Regions from separate parts of the Homo sapiens genome. Here region 1 is linked to region 2. Evidence: promoter capture Hi-C in human tissues and cell types (Jung and others, 2019). All regions are on one chromosome and are shown on one strand. The core of a region is centred on a gene start or on the middle of the fragment in contact, and the rest is flanking DNA. Distances in the headings are between cores, read along the strand shown.

Region 1 (2,700 bases), core at 30-2,529, 260 kb after region 2:
AGGAATCATGTAAAGCAGTTAGGTGGCTATTGCGTTAATTTGAGATGGTGGTGGTTTGGATTAGAATGGGACCTTGGAGCTGATAAGAAGTGCTTGTTGTCTGAATACATGCTGAAATTTGAACTGACAGGATCTGATGATGGAATGAGATGTATGGTAGGGGAGAAACAGAAATTAAGTATTATAGAAGTTTTCAAATTTGAGACACTGCAAAAATGGAGATGCTATTTCCAGCAATGAGGGATAACAGATTTGTTGAGGGGAAATGCGGGGTATAGTTTGGATGGCTTGAGTTTATAGTGCCTAGTAGATGTCCAAGTGGAGATGTTGAGGAGCCATTTGCATTCACCCAGGAAAAGAACCTAGATGTAGAGAAGAAATGATCTAAGGATTGTGCCCAGGGCAGCCAACTTCCTTTATAGCTGGAGGACAGCAGAGAATTTAGGCATAGATGCAGATAATTGGGTAGATGTGGTGCTGGGAGCTTACGAAAGCTTCTCTCTGAGTGCTTCTGTTTTCCCATTGAAATAGAAAGTAGGACCATCATCTGAGAAAAAGGATGGGGGTACAAGTATAGGTTTCAAGGGAGATGAAAAAAAGAGTCCTTTAGAAGATAGAAGAATGAGAAGGTAAAGGGATCTGAGTGGCAGAGCCAGAAAGCTCTCTGGGTGTACCTGAATTCAAAGTTATGAATTCAACATCGGACCATTCAGTGTGATTGTATTGTTTACTCCAGCAATGTTCAGCTGTGGGAATGAAATCACAAAGTGGGTGCAAGAGTAGGATTTAATCAGGATTAGTCTTTTTACAAGGGAGAACATTGAGCAGGAGGGGGCAAAGGAAATGGGGGAATGCAAGGGAGTGATTATAATGAAGAACCAGGGAACTTAAGCTGAGTTAAGAAGAATTAGTTGACAAAGTACTAACATACAATTAAAAGAGAGCATGTAAAGACAATTGCATGAGAATTTGCTGTATGAAAACGTCACTCTATGTCTTTGAGTGTCCCTGGGGTTATAAATACTCTTTCTTTAGAGAGTATGGCTTCATACTCCAATATCACTTAGAGTCACTTTATTGTGACAATTTTGTTTAATGGGTTCCAAAACACCGTAGAGGCAGGAACAAATATTTCAAATTCACAGTACTTTTCCTGCAATACTGAAATTGAAAAACCACTACAACTTGGAAGCTGATTTTCTAATTCATTTGGTAGCAGAATATGACCTCACCTGAACTCAACTGGTGGCAAATTGTTGTTTATTTATGTAATAATGTGAATAATCCTACATTATCTGCTGAAATATTAGCATGCTTTATTAAAGGGAACTGCTGGAGACTCTGGCTGGGATGTCACATAATATACAGAATATTTCTCATTAACATTCTAAAATCTGAAAAAGCCTCAATCTCAGAACCCATTTCACCTTAAGGATTTTGGATAAGAGACTATAACCTATACTAACATTCTACTTGAAAGAAAACCGATGTTTGGATATTTAAGTAACTTGTGTAAGGCCATGAGTTGTAAGTGGGATAGCCAGGTTTGAACCCGATGCTGTGTGAGTCCAGGGTACAACTATAGAATCCATTACTGCATCCCCCTCAGCAACTTTCTTTCAATGGTTGTAGAGTTGTTCATTCAGCCACTTAACACTCATTGTGCAACTGGGGACCACAATGTGGAGGAAAGAGAAACTCTATGAGGATTCATATAATCTCCACTTGGCTATACTCAAAGAATATAGAAACATGTTAATGAGAGAGGTATCAGTCTGCCTGTTTGTCTGTCTTAACCAGGAAGATGGGTCAGAGTTGGAATGGAAACACCTTTTTTAATGTGAGGCAAGAAACTCAAAAGCAGAATCTCTCCTGTTGAGTGAACTGACATGTTCAGCCAGTACCTGCTATCACCGAAATTGCCCAGTTGAGTGGCTGCATGTATAAAACATTTGAGTTCTCAATCAAAATAAACTCATTTTTGAAAATCCACTCTTTCCACGCTACAACTACTGCCGATAATAGCAAACATTGACTTCGTGCTCACAATTTTTCAAACACTGTTGTGAACACTTCATGTATTTCATTTCATTTAATGTTTAAAACAACCTTGTGAAGTAGGTAATATTTATTATCCTTCTTTTATGGATGAAGAAATCAAAGATTAGAGAGGTTTAGCAAATACTCAAGGATATGTAGCTAGTAAAGGGAAATAAAGGCTTCTAATCTATGCTGCTAGGCTTGAAAACAGTGGTTTATAACCATTTAGCACCTTGCGTTTCAAAAGTAAGCAATGATAGCAATAATAATAGCTACTACTTTTTGTAAGCCTACTATGGGTCATATACTTTATAAACATTATCTCATTTTGCTGCCACAATAATCCCAAAAGCTTATTAACTGGGAGAACTAAGATTCAGATAGTTGTACAATTTGACTATGTCTGTACAGCTGCTAATTGCTCCTTTCTGTTACCAAGCCAAGACATTCAAGTCTGAGAAAGAAAAGGCTTCTATATGTGGTTTATCATACTGCTGTACACAAGGAGGGCAATTTTAGTTACTGGGGTGTAGTTTTTACAAAAGTTCAGGGTCAAAAGCAGTGAAAACTACGACAACTTACCCTTTTAGCCTCTAGTTTTGTAATTCTGTAAGGTTTTCTTACATACTTTTTCCCCTTTTTTTCCTTTCTTTCTTCTCC
Region 2 (2,700 bases), core at 179-2,678:
TTCCTTTCCCATGAACTTAGGTGACTTTATTTTCCTCCCTCTTAGCATGTCCCATGCAATGGGCATGCTGTTGTCTGTTTCAGTTCAGGGGTTCTTAAATCACTTGTTCTGGATTCATTCTCCTTTACCAGACCTCTACATTCTGGTTTTGTTTCCAACTTAAAAGCTATTGTAAGGTATTCAAACAGCAGCTCTTTGAATAAACATATTATCAATAGCATATCCTGAGGCTTGATTTTAATGGAAACATCTTGTTTCTGGAATACAATGGCTCGTTTCTACTTAAGATACCCTCTCAGCAGTTGTCTAACAGCTCCTTTCATGACCAGCCACTCTCACTCACCCCCTCACCTTCCCTGCTGCAGAAGACTTCTTGTCTAATATGAGACAAAAAGATCCTGCAGTAGTGTTCCCACTGTCCTAACAGCACAGAGGAGCAGGAAGCCAGTGACAGGGCACACACGTTAAGTGCCGTGGCTTGACAAAATGACTACTGGGACACGCAAGTGGCAGAAGTCACCGATGTGCTGCTGCAGTCCCCGGTGAGAGTCTAGCGGATGAACTCAGAGCACCAACACATGCACTCTCACCCCTTTGAGCAGACACATTCCGAAGCCTCAACTTTCAACTCTCAACATCCAAATGCAACTTACAAAGGAAAACTCTTTATTTCAAGTTTCCGAACTGACCTAGCCCAGGTGAAACTCTCAAGGCACTGGGGAGAGGAAAGAGGCGGAGAGAGAGAGAAGGACGAGTGTGGCACAGCCCGCGGGGGCGCAGGTGCCCCAGCAGGGTGGCAATGGCAGGGACACTGTACCTCGGCCGCAGGCGGCAGGCGTCCCAGAGCCACGCGGGGTTCGCTCGTCTCAGGCGGGTCTTGCCTGCCAACCGCTGAGCTCCCTTCAATGTCAAAAGGAAAAGCGTTGTCGTCCCCGGACGCGGCGCGGGAGCAGGCAGCGCTCCAGAGGAGCCACAGAGGCAGAACCGAGCGCCAGGCTGAGCTCAAAGCCATTTCTCCGCTGACATCCAGTAGTGCTCTTCCAGGGCTCGGGCGCTGTGGGTCTCCGTAGGTCTCCCGCGTGGTGCGGCGGTGCCTCGCTTATTTTCCCTCCTCTCCGTGTGCAGTATCCCGAGGTGGCTGCGCAACCAGCAGCTTAGGAAATAAAGGGAAAGTGCGAGAGTAAGGGAGAGTTCCAGCCTCTCTCTCCCTCTCTCTCTCTCCCCTTCTCCCCCTCTCTCTCCCTCTCCCTCTCCCTCTTTCACTTTTTCTCCTTCCCGCAGAGGTTCTGGCTCAAGAACCTACAGATGGACGGAGCTTACAGTACGGCATCAAAAGGCAGACGGATTGGGGTGAGCCCCGCCAGCGCTAGGCCACCTCCTCTCCCTGGCCGTTCGGGACTGGGGACTGCGCTGTCCTGGCTTCCTTCTCACATTCATTCTCACCACTCCCTTTTTACCTTCTACTCCCAGGCCCTCCCACTCTAAGCTGGCTTTTCAGACACTGAGGTCCGCCTTTCCCTGCGGTCTTCCCTCCCCTCTCAGTTTGGAGCCCCTCCAAGGGCTCCAGAAGAATATTCAGCTTTTGTGACGCTTCCTCACCACTCTTATTTATGTAGTCAAGGTACCGGATGTCTTATCTATATTTACATAGATATTTTATGTGGCCCCCGCTAGTTTGCAGGAAAGTGGGTGGAAAAGGGATTCCAGGGCAGGAACCAAAGGTAGATGATCTCTGAAGGCAGAGGGTCAGGGTGCCCACTTTCTTGAGCAAGGTTTCTCGGGTTTTTTCTGGGGGATAGACTGTTGCACTCTTTGTGCTAATATCTTCTCTTCAGATTCACTGGCCACCCCTCTTCCTCCCTCCAGTCCTCACCCAGAGGGCTTGGGAGAAGAATATCTTTCACTGCAGCGCTGGAAAATGACTTCATTACCCAAATGCATGAACTTTTATTTACAAAGACCATCTTGTTTTCATCCTAAAGAGGTGCTTTGTAAGGGGCCCGGAACAAGGCTTGCAGTGTATGAGCCTGTCAAGTATACTGCCTACAGCCCCGGCCTCTTCCTCTTGGCCTGTAATCTCATGCCTACTACATCTGTCTGAATCATGTAACCTTTCCAAGACTTCAGGGTGAAGTTGGGCTACAGCTATGTCAGGGGTGCCCCTGTGGATGGGATAGTGTCTGCAACAGCTGATAGGTACCTTTGTTTACATTGGCTTCATAACGAGCTCTAAACATTTCCACAAGATCCAACCATGGTTTAAAAATGGTCAGATGAGACAACCATAAAATGACACCCAGGTAAGCTTCCAGGTGAAATAAAGCATTTTTGTATAACCTAATCATAAAATAAATAAATAAAGCCTTTCCATAAAACCTAATCATTAGCTCCATTTCATAGAACAAAAGTCATTTTATCTAAGTGTAAGCAAAACCATTTATTTTGCACCTAACATGTGCCAGATACTTGGCATATGCTATTTGTAAACCTCAGCATTCCTGCAAAGTAGTACCATTATTTTCCTTTTACAGAAGAAGAAAGTGAGGTTCAGAGAGACTAGGACATTTGCCCAAGGTCGCACAGCTGGTGGAAAGCAGAGATGGGGTTTGGATCCAGGCCTCACTGATTCCAAAGCTCTCTTTTACATCTGTATACACGACACTGCAACTTTAAAATAAAGAGTATGAATTCAGAGGTGAA

What was found. The method cuts DNA at HindIII sites, captures the fragments that hold promoters and counts their contacts. A contact is called where the count stands out against the background at its distance.
Region 1: a contact is called between a fragment that was not itself captured here and the fragment with the promoter of LAMA4 in region 2, in 1 of the 25 tissues and cell types used here (IMR-90 fibroblasts).

The regions. Positions count from the first base shown.
Region 1 is chr6:112,514,096-112,516,795 of GRCh38, forward strand. No RefSeq gene overlaps it. Among named protein-coding and RNA genes, the nearest start is that of RFPL4B, 170 kb to the left of the region's middle. The HindIII fragment of the contact is 5,625 bases long and covers 1-2,700 here.
Region 2 is chr6:112,253,139-112,255,838 of GRCh38, forward strand. It overlaps LAMA4 (laminin subunit alpha 4), which reads right to left and starts at 1,429. Exons shown (of 39, transcript NM_001105206.3): 1 at 1,321-1,429; 2 at 818-1,153. The coding sequence starts at 1,012. The region is part of intron 2 of LAMA4-AS1 (LAMA4 antisense RNA 1); the gene reads left to right. The HindIII fragment of the contact is 9,361 bases long and covers 1-2,700 here.